Linked DNA regions of Homo sapiens: all the other regions are linked to region 1. The links are contacts of gene promoters, found by promoter capture Hi-C in blood cells and fetal thymus (Javierre and others, 2016). All regions are on one chromosome and are shown on one strand. Each heading gives the region's core, a stretch centred on a gene start or on the middle of the fragment in contact. The rest is flanking DNA. Distances are from core to core; before and after follow the strand shown. Region 1 holds the start of NDUFS1 (NADH:ubiquinone oxidoreductase core subunit S1). Region 2 overlaps TRAK2 (trafficking kinesin protein 2). Region 3 overlaps LANCL1 (LanC like glutathione S-transferase 1). Region 4 has its middle 2.5 kb from the start of KANSL1L. Region 5 overlaps SUMO1 (small ubiquitin like modifier 1). Region 6 overlaps RPE (ribulose-5-phosphate-3-epimerase). Region 7 overlaps UNC80 (unc-80 subunit of NALCN channel complex).

Evidence for each region. The method cuts DNA at HindIII sites, captures the fragments that hold promoters and counts their contacts. A CHiCAGO score of 5 or more calls a contact.
Region 2: a contact is called between a fragment that was not itself captured here and the fragment with the promoter of NDUFS1 in region 1, in 1 of 17 cell types (total CD8 T cells). The highest score is 5.8, in total CD8 T cells.
Region 3: a contact is called between a fragment that was not itself captured here and the fragment with the promoter of NDUFS1 in region 1, in 1 of 17 cell types (monocytes). The highest score is 5.2, in monocytes.
Region 4: a fragment that was not itself captured here is called in contact with the fragment with the promoter of NDUFS1 in region 1 in 1 of 17 cell types (monocytes); the score reaches 6.7 in monocytes.
Region 5: a fragment that was not itself captured here is called in contact with the fragment with the promoter of NDUFS1 in region 1 in 3 of 17 cell types (total CD8 T cells, monocytes and naive CD8 T cells); the score reaches 11.1 in total CD8 T cells.
Region 6: a fragment that was not itself captured here is called in contact with the fragment with the promoter of NDUFS1 in region 1 in 1 of 17 cell types (M2 macrophages); the score reaches 6.8 in M2 macrophages.
Region 7: a contact is called between a fragment that was not itself captured here and the fragment with the promoter of NDUFS1 in region 1, in 2 of 17 cell types (neutrophils and total B cells). The highest score is 9.3, in neutrophils.

Annotation. Positions count from the first base shown.
Region 1 is chr2:206,157,719-206,160,983 of GRCh38, reverse strand. It overlaps NDUFS1 (NADH:ubiquinone oxidoreductase core subunit S1), which reads left to right and starts at 1,540. Exons shown (of 19, transcript NM_005006.7): 1 at 1,540-1,643. EEF1B2 (eukaryotic translation elongation factor 1 beta 2) reads right to left here and starts at 1,089. Exons shown (of 6, transcript NM_001959.4): 1 at 925-1,089; 2 at 274-396. The coding sequence starts at 1,004. RefSeq lists a silencer at 753-822 and enhancers at 1,083-1,342, 1,453-1,862. The HindIII fragment of the contact is 3,079 bases long and covers 1-2,699 here.
Region 2 is chr2:201,444,374-201,447,638 of GRCh38, reverse strand. The region is part of intron 1 of TRAK2 (trafficking kinesin protein 2); the gene reads left to right. Among named protein-coding and RNA genes, the nearest start is that of TRAK2, 5.5 kb to the left of the region's middle. The HindIII fragment of the contact is 1,860 bases long and covers 784-2,643 here.
Region 3 is chr2:210,471,268-210,474,532 of GRCh38, reverse strand. LANCL1 (LanC like glutathione S-transferase 1) reads left to right here. Exons shown (of 10, transcript NM_006055.3): 3 at 2,457-2,574. Among named protein-coding and RNA genes, the nearest start is that of LANCL1, 3.9 kb to the left of the region's middle. The HindIII fragment of the contact is 4,098 bases long and covers 1-3,265 here.
Region 4 is chr2:210,172,283-210,175,547 of GRCh38, reverse strand. It overlaps a transcript of KANSL1L not described here. Among named protein-coding and RNA genes, the nearest start is that of KANSL1L, 2.5 kb to the right of the region's middle. RefSeq lists an enhancer at 3,210-3,265. The HindIII fragment of the contact is 1,056 bases long and covers 1,285-2,340 here.
Region 5 is chr2:202,235,056-202,238,320 of GRCh38, reverse strand. The region is part of intron 1 of SUMO1 (small ubiquitin like modifier 1); the gene reads left to right. Among named protein-coding and RNA genes, the nearest start is that of SUMO1, 1.9 kb to the left of the region's middle. RefSeq lists a silencer at 70-259. The HindIII fragment of the contact is 685 bases long and covers 1,434-2,118 here.
Region 6 is chr2:210,012,127-210,015,391 of GRCh38, reverse strand. The region is part of intron 2 of RPE (ribulose-5-phosphate-3-epimerase); the gene reads right to left. Among named protein-coding and RNA genes, the nearest start is that of RPE, 11 kb to the right of the region's middle. The HindIII fragment of the contact is 1,884 bases long and covers 689-2,572 here.
Region 7 is chr2:209,993,131-209,996,395 of GRCh38, reverse strand. It overlaps UNC80 (unc-80 subunit of NALCN channel complex), which reads right to left. Exons shown (of 65, transcript NM_001371986.1): 63 at 2,970-3,081; 64 at 2,132-2,331; 65 at 1-1,067. The coding sequence ends at 801. Among named protein-coding and RNA genes, the nearest start is that of RPE, 7.9 kb to the left of the region's middle. The HindIII fragment of the contact is 8,415 bases long and covers 1-3,265 here.

The DNA.
Region 1 (3,265 bases), core at 291-2,790:
ACCCTCTCACCCCAGAGGTGGGCCCCCCAGGTCAAGGTCGAGGCACATTGGCAGGGCAGTGTGGGGAAAAGTTGAATTGCTGCTGTCCATGTTCTACCTGTTCTGTGAAAAAATGGAGGGCTTCAGTCTCTTGGCCTTCTAAGGTTACAGAAAAATTTAGCTTACAATATCCCAACAAAACTAAAGTAGCCTGGGTCCAGTTTTGTCATGTGAACATCCTGATAAACTTCGAGAGCAGTCTTATTCTTCAGCTCTATACAAAGATGATTTTACCTGGCCTTTTCCTTTTCGTAAGACTTGATGTGATTATACCAACGTAGGGCATGACACAAGTCGGCAGGCGGTGGGCTGGACACGGCTTCAAATACTGCCACATCTGCTTGTGATGGCACATACCTGCCAAGGACACAGAAACATTCACACACACCTTTGAAAAACAAACGCCAGCGAATAAATAATAAATACCGTATGCATCACATTAATTAGTGGGCACTAACCCCAGCAGGGTTGCTTTAATGCTTTTCTTTTCTTATTAGCTCCTTCAAATCAAACCATATGTTTGGGTCACCGCGCTATCCTGAGAAATGTCTGCCACTAAGTAGACCTCAAATACTGCAATGTCTGGCGTTGCTCTATCTACAGCTTAACATGTATTAACTGGGCAGCGATGCGGAAACACCTGGCTGAATTAAGTGTAAATAAAGCACATTTTAACCTTTCCTTGCTCGTGAACCGCTCCCCGGAGGCCGGGCTCGCCCCACACGAGGGCCTTGGGAGACGGCAACGGGGCGCTTTCCCCTCCCTCTCGAAAGGGCCCCGGGCCCGGCCTCCCTCCCTCCCGCGGCAGCCGACACGCTGCGCCACGTGGCCCCGGCCCCGGGCGGAGAAACCTCCCCGCCACCCCGACTCAGCCCGTCCGCTCACCCCTCGATGTAGCTCTTGTCCGCCAGGTAATCGTTGAGCACCTGGAGGCCGGCAGGGCTTTTCAGGTCTCCGAAACCCATGGTGTCGGCTGTATCCGAGAGCTGGGGAGCAGCAGAAAGAGAGCGCGCAAATTGTGGGCGCCCCACGCTGAAGAGAGGAAAAAGGACCCGAAGAGACCGGAAAATTCCTTATATAGAGACGGAGGCGTTTCCCTCCACCGCGCCGGACCGAAGGTTAAAGGTCAAAGTACTTTTGCATTCCCACTTCTCCACGTACGAATTGGGGGCCCTGAATTAAATGGCCCACAAATTGTCCATGGACCTTTCGTTGCGTTTGGAAGTAAATTAATAAAATAGGCATGTCTTAAGTTCGTACCTCCACGGCTCCCGAAGATGACGGGAACCAGCCCTAGAAGCGCCGGAGATGACCGAAGACGCCCGGCCTCGAGGCTGGGGCCACTTCCGGCGGAACTGCGGGTCCAAGTTGTCCTTCCCGCCTCCGGGCTGGGCCGACCTCAGCTCCGCCCTCTGGTCGGCTGACGGAAATTGCCGACAAACTTGTCGAATGCAAGGATTCTAGTCCCTCCGGGCTTTCCGTTCTCCAGGCCCGGCTGACAGAGTTAGCCGAGGCCGCCATATTGAATAAGCGACCCGGCCTCCTAGGGGGTCGTCGTGGTCCAGACAGTTTAGCAGAACAGCCTCCGCGGCTCCGGGGAGAAGGTGAGGTCTTGTATGGATGGGAAGGGTGAGGTGCGTCGGCCAGAGGCTTATTTATTGACGGGACTGTTTCCTTTGGCCCACGCGACGTAGTCTTCTGTTGTCCTTGACTGGGCGCCGCCTCCCGCCCCGCCGCCTCGGAAGCCCCTGAGAGCCGGCAGATGGGGGGCTTTTAGCCACGGTCTCTGGTCTGATGAAGCAGAAAAGAAGATGAGGATCAGGGGGTCCTCGGGAACGCTGTCACGAATGTAGGCTTGCAGGTGACCTTCCCTCTGCAGGGAAAATTCAGGACATTTCCCTCTCAGAGGAGGAGGCCGTTTTATTCCCCGGGAGAGGACCAGTGTCCGATGACTTAGGCCTTAAGACTAAGCCTTTCCCCCCAGATTTTTACACGCCTGATACAGTGCATGATTGTTTGGTCGCTGTTGTGTTAGCAATGGCTCACGCTTCTGTTTGTTGTCCTTGTTTGTTTGGTCCATTGACCACGTTGGACAGCATTTTTTTATTCCTTTAACTAACGGGAAATTGAGAAAAACGACTTTTGAAAAGTTAGCCCAGGATTGCATTGCAAATAACAAAACGTTGTTTACAGGTTATTGGGATCCAGTGCTTGAACTGTAAGGTCTTGGATCAGACACAACTCTGTTCACACACGAATTGACGGTATAGAAGTGTAACGTTAACTGTTTTTGATGAATAAACAAGTTATTTTTGTTTTGCGGAATATTCTTGTTTTCACCGACTTAAGGCTGCCAGAGCACCTGCACTTTTTAAATCCGGGAAAGTGGTCTCTACAAATTAACGACCAGAAATTAGAGATTCAGTTCACTTAACCGTTATTGAACATTTACTACGAGCCAGAAATGAGTCCGTAAAGAAGAATAAAATGGATGATATGCTGGGGGAATCGTAAATGTTAGATAGCCTGGTCAATGAAACTGAGAAAAGGCTTTTAAGCCAAGATTTGAAGGATAAGGAGGGGCCAGGGAAGAGCATTTCAGTCTGAGGTCACAGCCGGTGGCAAGAGGGGAGAGGCTGTGTGGGAATAGTGTGGAAGCTTGGTGACCTGTTAAGCTATTGAAGGCCGGAGGCGGTGGCTCACTCCTGTAATCCCACCACTTTGGGAGGCCGAGGCGGGCGGATCACGAGGCCAGGAGATCGAGACCATCCTGGCTAACACGGTGAAACCCTGTCTCTACTAAAAATACAAAAAATTAGCTGGGCGTGGTGGCGGGCGCCTGTAGTCCAGCTACTTGGGAGGCTGAGGCAGGAGGCTGGCGTGAACCCGGGTGGCGGGGCTTGCAGTGAGCCGAGATCGCTCCGCTGCACTCCAGCCTGGGCGACAGAGCGAGACTCTGTCTCAAAAAAAAAAAAAAAAAAGCTATTGAAATACTCCAGGCAAGGAGTGATGGTGGATTGGGATAGGGTGGTACCTTGGAAGGCAAGAAGTAAATGGATGGATCCATGTTGGAGAACGTGGAATAGCATAGTCCCTATATGGAAAAGTATCCAGTCTAGTTTAAGAAATGATTAGTCATTAACATTTTCCATCCAAAGAGATAATTATTTCTATTGCTACTTGGCATATCAATGTTCAAAGCACATATCGAAGTGTTGCAAATCTG
Region 2 (3,265 bases), core at 464-2,963, 4.7 Mb after region 1:
TTCCTTATAAGAAGGAAATTTGAGCACAAAAAGAGACACAGGAGTTGCACACACAAAGGAAAGACCATGTGAGGATTCATCAAGAAGACCAAGGAGAGAGGCCTCAGGAGAAACCAACCTGCCAACACCTTGATTTTGGACTTCCAGACTCCAGTATTGTGAAAAAATAAATTTCTGTTGTTGAAGCCACCCAGTCTGTGGTAGTTTTTTATGGAACCCCTAGCAAACTAACAAATAGGTGTTCTAGGCAAAAGGAATGACATACAAAAAGGCTTTAAGCTGTGGTTAGGTGATAGAAGTTGACATACAAAAAGCCTTTAAGCTGTGGTTAGGTGATTGAGGTTTTTTGGTGAAGAGATAAATGTTGAGAGAAATGAAACTGGAGACTAGGCTGGGGCTGGATTAGGAAGATTTTACATGAGATGCCAAGGGGCTTAAACTTTATCCTAAGGAAGATGGGATGGAGGTGGTTTGTAGCAGTGGAAAAGCATTAGATTTGCATTTTAGAAAGACTAAGACTTGTAAAGGATAAATGAAAGGTAATAAGACCGGAGACAAGGTAACCAAGGTAGCTAGTGCCACAGGATGCTGAACTAACAGTTTTCCCAGAATATTGAAATGTCTAACTAAAACAGAGCCACTGTTAATATAACATTATAAAGGGCACAGCTAACCCTTAGGGTGTACATAAGAAGATAGGGAAAGAATTTGTATATAGCTGTTTGTACCCAGAGGCTGTCTTTATTTTGACATTTTGCTTTTCCTTGTATAGATCATAAAGCTTTATACAACTATCAGAATATTCAGATTTTTCCACTCTAAAAAGTGATCTTATGTATTTAATAGACACTTTTATGGTGCTGACACAGATTTAAGCCAAATTCTTTGACAACCTTTTGAAATACCTACTATTCATTTTAAACGTAAACATACTGAAGCACAGAGAGATTAAGTAGCTTGTCCAAGATCACATAGCTAACAGGCAGCAGAGTTAAGATTCAAACTCAGTCTGTCTTTAGAGTCTGTGTTCTTGGCTTTACACTGTGCTGTTGCTATATGATATTTATCTAGCTCTTTATTTGTGAAAAGAGGGCAGAGTAATACAAAAATAAGTATGTTTGCTGTAAGAGGCATGCAGTTTATCAGAGGAGATAAGGAACAGCTCTAAGGTTTTAAAAACTGTTTTAGAGAAGAGCAGAAAGTGTTCGGAGGCAATACCTCCTTCAAGTTGGGGTTTCTGGGAAGGCCTGTTGGGAAAAGTGGCATTGAGCTGGTGTGGGAAGCATGGCTAGAATTTGGATATGTAGAATGGGGAGAGGACATTAAAATTAGAAGAAATAGCATGGACAGAGTTACAGGACTGAGAATTTCCTGGTGTGTCTAGGAAGCTAGTAAATGCAGTTCTTTCTTTTGGCTGGAATATGTTGTGTGGTTGGGGAAGATGGAGAAGCTAGTTTGCAGGGAGGGGAAATGTCTGGGGAAGAGAATTCTCGGGGAGTGAGGGGCAAGAGAAGTTGTAAGGTTTCAAGCCTGAGTAATTGAGGCATATGCCAGATGTAGTTATCTTTTAGGAGAGGAAAAAGTTCATCTATCCCCAACTCATCAGTTAACAGGTCCTGTTTTCACTATCTCACAAACCCGTAAATCCTTCTTAAAATTTCCATTCACCTAGTTTATACCTTTATTAAAATAATCCATGCGTAAATGTGATAAAATTTTCTAATTATTTTTGTCTCTAATCTCTCCATTCCAAAATTTATCCTGCATCCTGCATTTACATTTATTTCTCTCAAATGTCACTTCTATTTAGAAATGTGTTCCCTGCAGGATCAAGTTCAGACTTCTTAATCTGAACTAGTCAAATTTAAATCTCCAAATACCTTCCCCATAATTCTTCCCACTCAAATTGGTCTGTATATGCTGCCAACCTGGCTCTGTCTGCTACTTGCTGTTGGATATTATCATTATTATTTTCTCCTACCAGATAGTCTCCTCACCTATCCAAATCTTTTCCTCCTTAGGGAGTCCACTTAAATCTTACATCCTGTGTGAAGCCAGACCACCTCAGCTAGAAAAGAGCTCTCTCCCGACAATTCTGTTGTAACACTCATCAAATATTTATTATCTGGTACTATCTTATTTTCTTAGATTTCTTAGCTCATTGGATATTAGATCTAATCCAGATCATTAGAGCTGTCCCTTTTGGAGCTTAGACTTCTTAAATCTTTAACCTCCCTTTGGGCAGAGGCTGTTGTATACTACTATTTATCTTTTTTTAGTACTTTTGGTTTAATTCAAGTGGCATTTGTTGAAAGCTGTTCAATGAACAGCTGTTTGACCAGTTGTTAATTGAGGTCATTGTATTGAAATTTTCTTTTTCAACTGGCTGCTTAATATTTATATATAAGTGATGTTCTAGCTTTATTCTTAGCTTTACTACTGACTCACATAACCTCTTGAAGATACCCTGTTTAACTACCCCGTATTGTGGTTTATTCATGCTAGAAAATGAGCGTACAAAGTCTGCTGGTGGTATAGCAGTGGAACGAATTCATTTTGTAAAGATCCTTGAGGTCCTTGGAGCTTATCTATATTTATTTGTCAGTGTTTGCCAAACTTTGAGTTCTTTCTTTTTAGAAAGCTTTTTGACAAGTCACAAAAAAGGAAGGAATGATTAAATAGAGTCTAATTTAAGAGTGTTATACTCTATTGTGTAACAATGGAGTTGATGAATTGTGCATGTTAATGGTGAAAGAATTCCCCCACCAGTTTAGCTAATAGTTCATTTCAACACCAATTATTTATGGAGTTGCTTGAGCTTCTGGCATATTATATTCCTCTTCTGATCAGCAAGGAGGAGAGAGAAAATGGCACCCTCTCTTTCCTTTCAAGAAAAAGTAAAGTAGCCTCCTCTGCCTACCTTTGTTCTCTAACTTGGCATCTAATTTGTTTCTTTCACACATATATTATAATTTTGTATATTATTACAAATATATTATTACAATTTATGTGAAATTATAGTGTGAAAGAAACAAATTAGATGCCGAGTTAGAGAACAAAGGTGGGCAGAGGAGGCTACTTTAGATCAAGTAGACTGGTAAGTTTTAAAATGAGACTTAAATGTGAGAAGGAGTTAGCATATAGAGAACAAGAGAGAAAGAGTATTCCAGGTACAGTGAACAACAGTTACAAAGGCCCAGAGTTAAGAGAGTGATGAAGAATTAAAAGAAGTAACAAAAGGTCTGTGTCTCTGTGACTGAGTATG
Region 3 (3,265 bases), core at 334-2,833, 4.3 Mb before region 1:
TGTTGGCCAGGCTGGTGTCGAACTCCTGACCTCAAGTGATCCACCCATCTCAGCCTCCCAAAGTGCCGGGATTACAGGTGTGAGCCACCATGTCGGGCCAAATTTAACCCTTTGTTTCTAAGGGGAAAAATTCACAAATTTAAACCCTGACCCAAGAGTAATAATGTAGTTTATTGCCTAACGTAGTTTTTGGACAGGTCCTAGAAAGGAAGTAGCATACCAGTTCTAAAATTGTGTAATGTTGAACACGGAGGATCAAACCCTGGAGATCTGTCCTCCTTAATTTCTTAACACAAGATTTCAGTAAGGAACTGGTCTGTTTTCTGGCATCTGTCAGAAAAAAATAGAAAAGAAAAAAGGACTTTTAGAGACTTCAGATTATAGCTAGAGTTTGAATGATTTGGTGGTGTACCACAAGCAATCAATATTCTCACAGAGGTCACCTTTATTAAATGCAGAATGTGCCAAACAGAAAGTAACTTCCCTTCATAAGGCTGAGAGATTCTCATTATTCTTGATCTCTTGAAGGCCAGGCAAGATGATAAATTATATATGATCTATATACAGTAGATGACGTGTTCTCAATATAGATGCACTCTTCTATCTAGCTGAGATTTATAGGCCTTTTGTATTAACATTGAAGTATATTTTATCCTACTAAATGTATTTTCAAGTCTAGTTGAAATCTTAACCTCTTTGCAGAAATTGTTAAATAATGGGAGTGTGTCTGTCAAACAACGTCGTTTCTTCTAAAGAGTGAAATAAGGGATCATAGTGGTGCTTTAGATTAAATAATCCAGATGTGGTTGAAAGTCTGATTTGCCTTATCAAGGATGCTCCTCCGAAGTGAATCTTAACGTATCCTTAAACTATTGTTGTTGTTGTTAATTCTGATACTGCCTTCTTGCTGTTTTCAGTGTTAAGATTTTATCTCATTTTTAAAAATGAGATTCTGATGTGAGTGGTTAGGTTTATTTCTACAATCCTTACATGGTAAAATAAAATGTTTATACCCTTGTAACTTTCCCCCACATTGTTCTGAAATTTTAATTACTATGTGAAATTCAAGTCTTAGAATCACAGCAAGTTCTTAAAATTATTGAGGGAGACAATAAAGTGAGTTTTTTGGGTTTTTGTTGTTGTTGTTGTTGTTGTTTGAGATGGAGTTTCGCTCTTGTTGCCCAGGCTGGAGTGCAGTGGCACGATCTCGGCTCACCACAACCTCCATCTCCCAGGTTCAAGGAATTCTCCTGCCTCAGGCTTCCGAATAGCTGGGATTACAGGCGTTCACCACCATGCCCGACTAATTTTGTATTTTTAGTAGAGATGGGGTTTCTCCATGTTGGTCAGACTGGTCTCGAACTCCTAACCTCAGGTTATCCGCCCACCTCGGCCTCCCAAAATGCTAGGATTACAGGCATTAGCCACTGTGCCCGGCCTTCAGTGACTTTTTAAGACACTGATTCAGTGTGTGCAGAAGTTTAAAATTATTTTTCATTTGCCTTTAAGAAGAATAACGTAATGATTGTGTGAGCCTCACTGTTTGCACAGCATCTGTGGACCTTCATATGGGTGGTACTAACCCCACAGCCCCAGCCTTAGTGTATTTTCAATCCATATCTAAACTATTACTTGCCTTAGACCCTTGATCTGCTAAAGAATTAGTAAAAATGTCAACATTTACATCCCTGAATGAGAAAGACTTGTGATACACTATCTCATTTAATCCCCAAAGTACCTTTTGAAATTGGCGTGGCAGTTATTATTATCCTGACTTTATGGAGGTATTTGAAACATAAAGAAGTTATGAGTTGAGCAAGATCAGCTAATAGCGGGTAAGGATGTAGACAGGCTCATTCATTGAGAAACATTTGTGAAGCCCGTATTCTCTGCCAGACACTGTGCTGGACGTGGGTTTATGATGCTAAGTTTGATATTCTTTCTATTCTGCTTAAGGCTCTTGATATACATGAATTTGTTTTGCTTTTCTTTGGCTACTTCATTTTTTTTAAATCCTTTTTTTTAAATAAGAGCAATTAGATGTTTCTTTAGGGAATTTACCTTGCTGCAGCTTGAATACTAAAAATCCAGTAGTTTGAAAGCACCAAACATCTGATTTGTGCTTAATTTAATAAAAAGACTTTATTATAATATTGGTTTAAATAATAGACGATTACTATTAGGTGGAAAATTACTGTGAGCCAGTTTATCATTGGCAGTCTGTTTTAGTATTTAACTAAAAATTTTATTTAAAACATGTATAAGTTACAACGGTATTTTATAAATTTTGTTAATGTGATGTTGTTGTTTAAGAATAGAAAATAAATTGTTTAGTCTTCCAGGTGGAAAAATATGTCCTAAGTGGAAAAGAAATACCTTTCTGTCTTTGATAGCTTATAGTCCAGCAAGCTGGGTGACCCACATTATTTTGATACTTGTTTTCCTTTAATATCTAGCTGACTCCTGAGTTCTCACAACGCTTGACCAATAAGATTCGGGAGCTTCTTCAGCAAATGGAGAGAGGCCTGAAATCAGCAGACCCTCGGGATGGCACCGGTTACACTGGCTGGGCAGGTATGAAGTGCTGACTGTGAGCTGGCATAAGCATTGTGCTTAAGAGCCAGAGCATTTTTCCGAGAGCTGTCTGTCTGAATGGTACACCCTTAAATGCTTCCTGCATCTGCATATGAGTAATTGCTTCTGGGAGAGTGCTGTGCCCTCAACCCAACCAACCATGGTATCTTCTGGGTTTTTAATAGTGCCCTGAATTTAGGGCATGGTAAGCATATTCATGTAATTCATGCCTGACATTTGGATGGCTGCTATACTTGTGAGGAGAAAAATTGATTTTCAATATTACATAGTTAATTTGCAGATGTAATTTCAGTGGGAAGAATTGGGAAGAGTTCCAAAATACAATGCCTGAAGCGGAGGTAATGAGGATTGATCTCAGGAATAAAATATGTCCAGAAGCATGTTTTAAAAAGTTAACCCGTAACAGGAATCCATACAGGAATCCATACAGGGTAAAGTATTACTTCCATGAACTAATCCTCCCATATGGTCATTGCTGTTTGGTTTGCAATTGCTGCATTGCCAATCTCAATCATTGAGAGGCTGGAGGAGGTTTAGGAAGAAACAGTGCATTGATGTCAAAAAAAGGTGAGAAAGAGAAAAATCAAAGAAGAGGCTGGGCGCAGTGGCTCACACCTGTAATCCCAGCACTTTGGGAGGCCGAGGCGGGTGGATCACGAGGTCAAGAGAT
Region 4 (3,265 bases), core at 563-3,062, 4.0 Mb before region 1:
AGGCTGATCTGGAAATCCTGACTTCAGGTGATCTGCCCGCCTCGGCCTCCCAAAGTGTTGGGATTACAGGCGTGAGCCACCGTGCCCAGCTCTTTATCCTTTCAAAGGTGATGGATCTTAGGGCTGTTTCCAGTTTGAGGCTGTTGTGAATAAAAGTGCCATGGATATTCATATACACAGGGAATCATTTTGTTCCCCTGTAGTCATGGGCCAGTTCTGTTCTCTGTTATACTTAGCCCTGGTTCGAAGATTCTTATAGGTCTTGCTACCTACCTCTACCTTTTGTCTGCTTGTTTATAGATACTGGTTAGTTAAAGCTAAATCTGTCCTGAGTAGGGATTATCATGTTTAGCCGTTCTGCTTCTATTTCCCTCTCTAAACCTGATCATAAAAGAAGAATTAAATATACTGGAATATAACAGTGGGGGACAGTTTCTCAGGGCATAGAAATGTGGAGAAATAAATAGGACAACCTCGAATAGAGTAGGGTAGGGTAGGGTAGGGTAGGGTGGGGTGGGGTGGGGTGGGGTGGCGTGGCATGGCGTGGCGTGGCATGGCGTGGAATGGAATGGAATAGAATAGAATAGAATAGAATAGAATAGAATAGAATAGAATAGAATAGAATAGGATAGGATAGAATAGAATAGAATAGGATAGAATAGAATAGAATAGAATAGGCTTTCTATTCTGTGAGAGGTAGTGAGGAAAGAACTCTGGCTTTGGACCCAGTCAGGTCTGTCTTCGAAATGGGCCATTTATTAGCATAAGAATCTAGGTACATTAATCTCACTGAGCTTCATATTTTTTTCACCTGGAAAATGAATATAACATTCACTTTCTGGGATGTGAAAATTAATTTATCCAGACATTAAATATGCATTGAGAATCCACATGTGTCAGGCCCTGTCCTAGGCTCTAGGGATACAGCAATGAGCGAACCAGCAAAAGTGCCTGACTTCATGGAGCTTATGGTCTAATTTAGGGCGATAGACTACAAAAGTAAAAAAATCAAAATCTATGTTACATTACATGCTGATAAGTGCAATGGAGAAAAACAAAGTAACAAAGGGGGATAGAAAAGCCCCTTCTTGGCTGTGAGTTGCTTGAAATTAAAGATTGATCTTTCTCCTTTATCTCTAGCATTTATCACAGTGTCAGCTATACTAAGTGTTGCATGAATGTTTCTTGAGTGAAAGGAATGACTGAATAAAAACCAGTGTTGAAGAGAGAAGTTTATCTCATGAAATCATTGTAATACTGCTTACCTGGACATTTTTTAAAGCTTCCAGATAGGTAATTATTATGTCAGCAAGAATGGTGCCCTTTACTTCTCCTTGTTCTTGCTGGATTTTAAAGTGTTCTATTCTTACCACTGTTATATTTTTTCTTGGAAATCAGAATGCTTTTAATGTACCTTCTAAATGATATGTCCTTGATTTTAAAAAAACATTAACTACATGCACTTTTCAGGCTGTTGCTGAGTAATATAGAAAATAATTTGACAAATGATTCAGTATATCAATTTTTGTAATAAGGAGAACTGATATTCTATAGTGTCTGGAAAACTCGCATGTATATGCTACAAATAATAAAATCATGCTTTAGAACAATATTCAGTGTCAAGGGATAGTGTGCTTAACATGTAGCTAAATGGGATAAAAAACCAGTATGCACAGTGTCATACATATAAAATACAACAGACTTTGCATATGATTGTGGTTTTCTTCTTTGTGCTTTCCTATATATTTTATATCAAACCTGTATTATTTTGTTAATCATCTCCCCACATTCCTATTAAACCGAATATAAAATAGGGAAAATGTACATGTATGATAGCTTGATAGATTGAAATATTTATTTAAGGTCTGTAACATTTAGCAGGCGGCAGGGCTGACTAGAAGATAAAAGAATTAATCTGGAGCGGCCGGGTGTTGTGGCTCACGCCTGTAATCCCAGCATTTTGGGAGGCCGAGGCGGGCAGATCACCAGGTCAGGAGATCTAGACCATCCTGGCTAACATAGTGAAACTCCGTCTCTACTAAAAATACAAAAAAAAAAAAAAAAAATTAGCCGGTCTTGGTGGCGGGCGCCTGTAGTCCCAGCTACTCGGGAGGCTGAGGCAGGAGAATGGCATGAACCCGGGAGGCGGAGCTTGCAGTGAGGCGAGATCGCACCACTGCACTCCAGCCTGGGAGACAGTGTGAGACTCCGTCTCAAAAAAAAAAAAAAAATTAATCTAGAGTATTGGAAACAGCCTACCTCCCACGGCTATGTGATGAACAAATTACATAATATATGTAGAAATGCTGTATGAATCACTATTTGTGTAGTTACAAAGCTTAATCCCTTTGTCATCCTCTATAAACTCCATGAGGACAGGGAATTTGTTTACTAATATATCTTCATTAGCCATCACAAAACATGTGTTCAATAAACATTTGGCAAATATATAAATATTTTGTTTGGTAGCAAAAAATTATTTCACAGGAGAAAACTACCATTAAATGATTTGATGTCTCTACAGTTCCTTCAGGTTAAAATCTGAATTCCTGTCATTCAAGATTTACTCAATCTAGTTGACAATGTACTTTTCTGCCCCCCAAATATTCACACAACATCTCCTCAAACCACCCAAGGACACTATCTCCTGAACTATTGATGCCTTCCTCCTCTCTCTTAAGTCTTTTAAACGTCCAACTCAAATCCAGAATCTTCCTTTGATCTATCTTAACACATGCTTATTAGATGTCTCAAACTGCTAATTAAAAAAACAAAACTTTAAAAAATACTTTATTCATTTTTGCATTTCTGTCCCCAGGGACTAGGACAGTCCTTTGAATATGGTAAATATCCAATAAATACTTACTGATTTAATTATTTTTCACAACACATCATTAGCTTACAATTTTTATTACAATGAAAGTAAATCAATTTCCTAAAATTCTTCCCTTGCCCCATATCGAGGTGCAATTATTCAGTAATTAAAAAAATATAGCTCCAATAAATGCAGCTGGTCATAAAAATTATTTCAGTAATATCACAATCTACTAGAAGAACCAGGAACGAGTAGCTAATTTTCCAATTCCAGTTATCTATGTTACGGATTACGCTTTGTTATGACTGCAATTCCTTGGATTTCTCCCCTCTTCCGCCCCCGGGATCTTATCCAATTGATAAGGTTAAAATAATGGCTATTATCCTTCTGGCTTAAAAAGCCTAGTGCTCTTCGTTCCTTAAATCATTTCATGTGTAAATTCGGTGCTTA
Region 5 (3,265 bases), core at 527-3,026, 3.9 Mb after region 1:
GCGGCCGGTGGGGACTAGGCAGGCGAGGGAGAGGAGCCGACTACGGCCGGAGGTGCCGGGGCCTGCTGCGGGGCTCCCGGAGCCGCCCGCCCCTCTCCGGGCTCGCTCATCACCCCCGTACCCCACCGCCTTTGGTGGCGGCCTCCCTCATGTCGTCCCACTTCTTTCTCCCGGGTCGACTAGGTGCAGAGCCCCGCTTCCACCTCCCTGGGAGGGTCTCTGGAGAACCCGTCCGTCTCCTTCCAGAGGACTAATCGCAGAAGCAGGGCCCTAGGCCTTAGTTATGTAACGGGAGAGAATCCCTGACTGGGAGGCTCCGTGGCCCTGAGAAGCGGCTGGACTCTCCACTTTTTGCTTCTTCGTCGGGAGGGCGTGGGGCGGCGAGGGAGGGAGACGTCCGATGTTGTTGGGAATCCTGCCTCCGTTCGGATTGGAGCTAGGGCAAGGATGCCGCTGCTCTCCTCTGAGTCTTTTTCCGTGTGGGGGTGCAGAGCTGTCGCCTCTTTACTGTACTTTCCCGTTTCTTACTCGGGATTGGTTCATCCTAGCTCTCCAGTTGTAAGAGAGCATTCATAATAACCAAGAAAGAAAATAGAACTAAACTGCTAGAGCAACAAAAAGCATCTCACCTGGGCATTAACCTGAGGAAGTCTCATATTTTTGAGGAAAAGCATAGGAAAACTTTGTGTATGTAGAGTCGTTGCAGAATATTTGCAGAAAGTTGCCTGGTAAGGCAAAGTGCTCCAGCTCACTGTTAGTATCAATAATTTACTTGGGATTTGCACTTAATCAGGAGTGATCGATTTCCCCTTTTCTTCCTCATCCTGTTCTAATTAAACAACTTTATGGCTAGTTTTTAATTCATAAAGTTTTTGTCTGGTCTTTTGTTTGCTCAGACGACTTTGACTTTTTTTTTTTTTTGAGACGGAGTCTCGCTGTGTCGCCAGGCTGGAGTGCAGTGGTGCGATCTCCACTCACTGCACCCTCCCGCCTCCTGGGTTCAAGCAATTTTCGGGCCTCAGCCTCCCGAGTAGCTGGGATTACAGGCACTCACCACCAGGCACTCACCACCACACCTAGCTAATTTTTGTATTTTTAGTAGAGACGGGGTTTCACCATATTGGCCAGGCTGGTCTCGATCTCCTTACCTCGTGATCCGCCCACCTCGGCCTCCCAAAGTGCTGGGATTACGGGCGTGAGCCACCGCGCCCAGCCGACTTTGACTTTTTACATTATTTTTGGACTTTTACTCATTTAATGGTAGTTATTCAGAAAACTATTTTTCATTCAACTCCACGATGTACTTGAACTTTTAAATTTAACACACCTATTCCCTTGGCTTTTAACCCAGTTTTGTACCATTTCGTGAGAGCAAGTGAGGTTTTTGCAGATTGGTACTATTGTACAAAATGTACACTTAACATTTTAAAGCTTAACCATAATCTAGATGAATTTTGGATGGATCTACTTACTAATAATCTAGATTAATTCCCAAGTGGGCATTGTGTTTCCCTAGGTAGTTGTTTACTTGGTTACTAGGAAGAAAAGTATAGGCGTAAATGCTTAGTTTCGTCAGCCTTTTATTTTGTTTCCCAGAAGCGTCTAGGAAGCATTTTGAAATTTATTGTAGACTGATGGAAGAGCAACATAAAGAAATAATTATAAAATGTAGAATTTATTGCTCCATTTTGAAGTCAGGTTATTTAAGAGATACATAAAGAAATGAAGGACCTAGGATACAAATAGATTCTTTTATTTCATGTTCATACTAGGACATTATTTGTCTTTTTCACTGTCATTCTTTCATGAGTGTTCAATGGACGTTTCTAGAAACTAACATGACTTGTGATAAAACAAATTAAATGTGGAAGCAGATGTGAAAATCCAGCTGTTTAGCTGTTTTTATTAAGCCAGACATTAAAGAGATTTGCAAAAATGTGTAACAGTCCCACTCTTTCATTAATTTTGTTTTGAAAAATATTTTTAATAAAAATATATATTTGTTAACATATAACAGGTTTGTTGGTATTTTAAAATGAATTAATATTTAAGACATTTCTCAGTTTTCAGTGTTTAATACTGTAAACATCAATAGATGTAACCAACCTAACAAAAGCTTTATGGGATTCTAAATAAATTTAAGTGTAAGATTCCTGAGAACAAAAAGTTTGAGAACTGTTGCTGTAGGCTGATTGACCAACATCATTAGGACTCGCCGGGTGCAGTGGCTTAAGCCTGTAATCCCAGCACTTTGGGAGGTCAAGTTGGGTGGATCACGAGGTCAGGAGTTCTAGACCAGCCTGACTAACATGGTGAAACCCCGTCTCTACTAAAAATACAAAAAATAGCCAGGCGTGGTGGTGCGCACCTGTAATCCCAGCTACTCAGAAGGCTGAGGCAGGAGAACTGCTTAAACCCGGGAGGCGGAGGTTGCAGTAACTGGAGATCACTCCACTGCACTCCAGCCTGGGCGACAGAGTGAGACTCCGTTTAAAAAAAAAAAAAAGACTCAGTACATTGGCCGGGTGCAGCGCCTCACACCTGTAATCCTGGCACTTTGGGAGGCCTAAGTGGGGGAGGATTGCTTGAGCCCAGTTTGAGACCAGCCTGGGCAATATAGAGAGACGTCGTCTCTACAAAAAATAAAATTAGCCAGGCATGATGGCCTGTACCTGTAGTCCCAGCTACTCAGGAGGTTGATATGGGAGGATCACCTGAGCCTGCGAGGTCGAGGTTGCAGCAAGCCAAGATCATGCCACTGTACTTCAGCCTGGGCGATAGAGACCCTGACTCAAAACAAAGAAGACCCAGTACAAGTTCAGTGTTGAGTGCTAAAGACTTAAAAGAGTTATAAAGCTGAACCCTTAATCTTAAGAGGTTTATAAGTGAGAACAAGAATCTCCAAATCCTGTACTGTTTAATATCAGCATGAGACTAAACCACTGTCCTAAGAAGACAACCTTAATTTGAATCAAGTTATTTTAGAGTGATGTGTTTTCTGAGGCAGCTCTCAGAAGGTTATTGTCTGGTGTTAAAATAGTGAAATTGAGTAATAACAAGGTTAAAATCGGTGGACATTAAATACACACAAGACTTCAATTGCTGGGTCCTCCATTGATTAATGAAAAAATGATTGTTTTTGGAATTTGAGTGAAACACTTCTTAATGGCTGAGTAGGGTGGCTTACGCCTGTAATCCCACCACTTTGGGATCACTTGAGGCCAGGACTTTGAGACCAGCTTGGCCAACATGAGGAAAGCACGTC
Region 6 (3,265 bases), core at 381-2,880, 3.9 Mb before region 1:
AGGGAAGCATGTGGTGAGGAGAAACCCTTCAGCATTCTGCAGGCCACTGGGAAAAACCACCACAGTGAAGTGACAAGATACTATCGACTGAGGAAGCTACGATAGCAATAACCCAGGTGAAAAATGATGGCAGCAATTCGGGATGGATATGTTCTTAAATAAGAGCAAAGAGAGCTGAGGATAGATGAGATGTGGAGGATAAGAGGATCCTCCATGGATAGATAGATGAGAGGAAAATAAAGATGGCATCAAGGATTTTGACCTTATCAACTAGAAGAACGGAACTGCCATTAATTGAGAGGCAAGACTGCAAGAACAAATTTAGGGGGAAGGACATGTTGACTGCAAGAAACCTGATATTCATCCTAATTCTAAAGCTTGATTCATATAAACACATAAGGTGAAAATGGGCATGGCCTTCTTAAAGATCTTGATTTAAAACATAATAGCATTTCATAAGAAGGAGAGGGCAGCTTAAAACAAGCTAAACCAAGAAATAACACTGTGAAGAATCCTGTGTTTGATAGATGGTAGTGAGGAGAGGTTTTAAGTTTTTTATTTTGCTAGAGGAAGCACATTTCTGAAACAGCCAAGCTATATTTAAGAAAAAAATTCTAACATTTCAGAACAATTATGAAATACAATAAAGCCTTGAAAAAAAAAAGTCAGAAAAAGAAAGTATAAAGCTTGACTAATAAAGTCAAGATTAACGTTTGTATTTCTAATCCAGCAAAAGTAATTGTATGAGAACTTTTTTTTTTTTAATAGAGATGAGTTCTCACTGTTTCCCAGGCTGGTCTCGAACTTCTGGCCACAAGTGATCCTCTGACGCTGGCTTCCCGAAGTGCAGGGATTATAGGTATGGGCCACCACACCCGGCCTAAATTAGAACATATTTTAATAGGTAAAACTTTATTCTTAAAAAAATGTATTAAATCTGGTGTTTCTTATTCTTTGCATCATAAACAAGGAAAATTCAAGCCGGTTTAAAATACCTACTCCAGGCCGGGCGCGGTGGCTCACGCCTGTAACCCCAGCACTTTGGGAGGCCAAGGCGGGTGGATCACGAGGTCAGGAGATCGAGACCATCCTGGCTAACACGGTGAAACCCCATCTCTACTAAAAATACAAAAAAATTAGCTGGGCGTGGTGGCGGGCGCCTGTAATCCCAGCTACTCGAGAGGCTGAGGCAGAACAGCGTGAATCCAGGAGGCGGAGCTTGCAGTCAGCCGAGATCGCTCCACTGCACTCCAGCCTGGGCGACAGAGCGAGACTCCATCTCAAAAAAAAAACAAAAAACAAAAAAACCTACTCTATTCATTCCTTAAGTTACCAGACTGCTAGCTATGTCATCCTTACTCAACCTCTAGCATCCAGTAACCACTAGCAACCCTCAATGGAGAAGTTCTATGGTGTTCAGGGAGTCAATGGTTCAGCAAATCTGTGCATAGTTAACATTAGATCAGCAATTCCCAATCATTCTATCATCTATTATAATCATAATCTATTATTCATAAACTTGGTCAACAATATGCTGATTAAAAAGAATCTAAGGTCTATTAAATTCTAAGTTACATTAAAAAAACACTATATATGGCTAGGTGCGGTGGCTCAAGCCTGTAATCCTGGCACTTTGGGAGGCCAAGGCAAGTGGATTGCTTGAGCCCAGGAGTTTACACTCTTAAAAATTATTAAAGACCCCAAGAAACTTCTGTTGATATGGATTATATTTATAGATATTTAATGTATGAGAAATTCAAACTAAGACATTTTAAAGCATGTAATTTTTGGCGGGTTTGGTGGCTCACACCTATAATCTTAGGAGGCTGAGGAGGGAGGATGGCTTGAGCCCAGTTTGAGACCATCCTGGGCAACATAGTAAGACTCCTTCTCAACAACAACAGAATAATTAGCTAGGCATGGTAGTGTGCCCCTGCAGTCCCAGCTACTGGAGGGGAGAGGTGAGGTGGGAGGACTGCTGGAGCCCATCAAGACTGAGGCTTCAGTGAGGTATGAAGGCCACCACTGCACTCTAGCCTGGGTGACAGAGCAAGACTGTCTCAAAAAAAAAAAAAAAAAGGATAACTCTATTACCTATTAATTAAGAGTGGTATTATTTGTTTTACATTTTTGCAAGTTTTCAGTGTCTGGCTTAACAGAAGACACCTATATTCTCACATCTGTTCTGTATCTAATCTGTTGTAATACAGATGTTCTGTAACTTACAATGGGGTTACATCCCAATTAACTCAATCTAAATTGAAAATACTGTTATCTCTAACTGCATTTAATATACCTAACACACCAAACATCATAGCTTAGCCTAGCCTATCTTAAATGTGCTGGGTGGTAATTTTATAAAGGTTAGCTGCAGTGTGCACTCTGTAAACCCTATCAATGAGCTTTTCATTCTTTGTTACATTAAAACCCATTGTTTGTCTTGTATTTTGAATGGGTCTTTTAAGTACTGATTTACTGAGTTACACACATCTTACAAATAGTGACAGATTTCATTCCATAGTACCCCAAAATCACATTTGGTAAAATAACTACAGATCTCATCAGAAAAGCTTGTTAACTGTTGGGACGCTATCAAACCCAGAGTGGTAAGATACACAAGTTTTTTAAAATTCTAATTTTGGGAACAAAAACTGACAAGGTATCTTTCCTTGAAGAGACAGCCTCATTTAGTTAATATTTTTTAAATGTCATTAAAATAGCCAGGTCTGAAAAACCATAGTTGATCTGTCAGTTGTTCTTTCAAACAAACATAGTGTTCTGGAGGAAAGCAGCTAGTTCAGATCACACCTCTATGGTGCAAGTGGTTTTCCTTGAGAAAACCATTATGTTCCAGTATGCAGCAATGCAGCACAAGCACTTTATATGCACTTCCTACTTTGCCACACAAAATATTAAAAAGGCATGTATTCAGGGACCAAGATTTATTAATTTCTACTGCTTCATCAAGGATATTTATTGCAAATGCATGATGATGAAGAATAACTCCTGATACAGTCCCTGCCTTGAGTTGGTTAAGGCACCAGCAAACTAACTCATCAATGTTTTTGTACCATCAGTAGAAATAATGGCAAATAATTTCTTAGGATTATGAAAATAGTTTTGATATACTCTCATGGATGACCCGAAAGGGTCTTAAGGATTTGTGTGGGTCCTTATACAACATACTTGAGGATCACTGATTTAGACAATAACAGGAACAGACTTTTCCCATCACTGTATTTCTTAGACATTTATTTCTACTCAA
Region 7 (3,265 bases), core at 382-2,881, 3.8 Mb before region 1:
TACCATCTCTTTTAAGTGATTATATATACATTTAGTTTTTATAATTGTATAGGCTGTTTAGGTTCTTAATTCAGAATTATTTCTGATGATTTCTAGAATATTCTGTAATATTCTAATGTGATAGATTATGAAATGGGATGATCTTATGCCATCTGCATTTTGATTTACAACATGCAATGAAAATGATAGTTGAAAAATAAATATCTAAAAGTCCACAGCTCTCTATATAGTATTTTTTTCTTCTTCTAAATGGCTGTATTGTTACTCAAAACAAAAATGGCTGCAGGCTTGTTATTTAGTCTCCCCAAAGTAATATTTTTCCTATTAATTATTTTTTTATGTAAATTGCTACTTGTATAGCCAACCTGAATTGATATTTTTTAAACTATAAAAATAAATATTTGCATGAGATGTATAATGTGAGTAATCTCAAAAAATTGCATTCTATTTTTAGATCATATCATTTGTTAATATTTCTATGAAAGCAGCAATGAATAGTATATATTTTTAACTGCTGAAGGCTTCTTGAATCATAAACAATGTGCAGTGAAATGGCTCTTTCCCCTTATTCCTCCCTGGTTTTGTGATTTTCACACAACTAAATCCTTTTAGCCATTGACTTTTAAGATGTTTATGAAACATCATGTGTATTGGCAGCAAAACCTATTCAGATTTGTGCCACCCATTAGAAGTAAAGTGCTATTTTGTAATTAATCTTTTTCAAGCAAAAGTATTGAACTTGTAGTAGAGAGATCACTTTCATGTCTTCTCTATACCTGCAGAGCTTACAAGATACAGAATTAAACATGAGACTCATCTAATACTGCATCCGTTTTCCCCAGCTCAGTGGGAGTAAAGGTGAACTGACTAGATAGTAGCGGGTTCTCCATGCCATTTTCCTCACTGATATGAAGGACAGTGTCTCCATGCTGTAGGAGGCTGGATGTCTCGAGGCCTGTGAAGTCATCAGGGTCAGAGAGTTGGGCAGAGAGTGGACTGTGTGCAGTAGCACCTTGTGCTTCTGTGTCCTCCTCCTTTTCTCCTTCTTCAGTGGGGAAGTTCTCACTCTGTGATCAAAAGGATCATAACATTATGGAAAGATAGGATGGGTACCAGAGAAGAACATCAAAAAATGTTGTTGTCTAGTGGTAATTGGAAAAGGAATCAGATGGCTAGTCCCAGTTCCAGCCTTTGTTATAGGTAGGACCTTACGTAGGCCTTTCCAACTTTCTAACCCTCAGTTTTTGAACATGTAACATGAACACAATTTTTTGTCTTGCTTATCTTGTAGACTGTGAGGATCAAATGAGATAATAATGCTTAGTGTTAAAATGTTTTTTAACCATTAAAGACTATACAAATGTATACAGTAACATTGCCCTTTAGTTTTCCTTAAATACCACATGAGAAGAATCTGACACTCTAAGAATTCATTTATAAAAATGAAAAGAAAAAATATACCAAAACAAGAAAAATATCAACAGGAAAAATAGCAAAACAATGAGGAAAAAGATGAAAACAAAAAGTTCCTTTCATCTTATAGGACATAGAGGTTCTATATTTAGAGGCTTTATCTAAACTGGTAACTTAATTTTTTTAAATTGAACTATCTTTCAGCTATCCTTTATCTGAATGCTTGGAAACACAAGTGCTTTGGATTCTGATTTTGGAATATTTGCATTATATACTTACCTGGTTGAGCATCCTTAATCCAAAAATCTGAAATCCAAAATGCTCCAATAAGCATTTTCTTTGAGCATGAACTTTGAATATTACATCAGCACTTACAAAGTTTCAAATTTTTCTGAAAAAAAGTTTCAGATTTTTGTATTAGGGATGCTCAACCTGTATAAACCTGTTTTAAAGAGCTGTTTTAGCTGCAAAGTATTTCCTCTTAGGTTTTTCATAGGTAAAAATAGCAAGGCTTTTCTTGGTCCTTCTTAAGCAGATATATGCCTGGCTATACTTTATATAGATTTTTCTCTTTCATGATGGCAGGAGCAGTATCTGTTTGGATAACAAAGCATTGCAGACCTGGACTTAATTATATGGAATAAATGTGCATATCCAAGTGGCTGCTAGAAGTAAGTACACAGGGAGCAAGCCTTGCCTGTTTCTCTAGTGCCCTCACCTGCTTGGGAGACACGCTGTGGAGATCCGCAACAACTATGGCGGGAGAAGATGTGAGGACTGGTTCGTCCATTGCTTCTGGTTTCCTAGAAGGGGCTGGGCTACAGCCCTGTAGTTGGCCTGTTGCAGGAAGCGCATCTGTTGGGGCAGCTGCTGGCTCTGGCTGAGCCTCAATGAAGGTCACAGATCGTTTCTGATCCGCTGCAGGTAGAGGTGAAACAGTAAATTGGGGAGGAGTTGGTGGAAACGGACCGTCAATGCTTAATAGTTGGTATTAACCAGTGTCTCCTGGGGATTTTTTAAAATAAAAACATTGCTGGTTTATTAATAAATGAGAGCACGTTTGAACATTTTGCGCATGTTTGATTTTATCTTCTTACAAAGAGTAAGACTTACGTAGAAAAATCATTTTCACGTAAATGGCCTAAAATAACATTTGTATAGAATATTAATTGAAGTTGATCATTCCTCATAACAACTGCCAACAGGACTTAAAAGTCCCTATTATTCATCATAGCTTTACCTTCAGTGAGACATACAGCAAACCCAGTCCTTGGCTTCAGTAAAGAAGCCACATCCTTTTATAGTCAAATTTCCCAGTATTAGTGGTTTACCTTGGGCTCTTCCATTTTTTATAGGTTCATGGGGGTACAGACAGGGACTGGGGAAGGCAAGAAGAAAAAAAAGACACTACAGTTTTCTGGGAAACTCCTTCCCTTATGTTAGCACCTCCCCAAAGGTGTGCTTATCTCCATCAGCTTGGTTTTTGTAAGCCTTCCTGGGTGAGTTGCATGGCATCATGTCAATGGTATAGTCAGAAGGGACACAGGAGGCCTCACCAGACGGCTTCGTTTTAGGTTGAATGCTCCTGCGAGTGGTTGACAGCCGAGCCCCTTGGCGATTTCTGGGTTCAGTCTGAGTTTTCTGACGTGATAGTAGAGGACGTCTTAGCTAAAGAGAATAGGCAGAATAAAACTTGCAAGAGGGTCTAACTGCCTAGGAGGAAATTGTTTCTTTATTTATATGTTTCTGTGGATTCTTATGGTTGTTCCTTACATTTATAGCTGATAAATTTATTTCTGCATATTTAACTATAAGTATTTTCTTCTGACATTCCCTTTAGCTAGTTCATCTC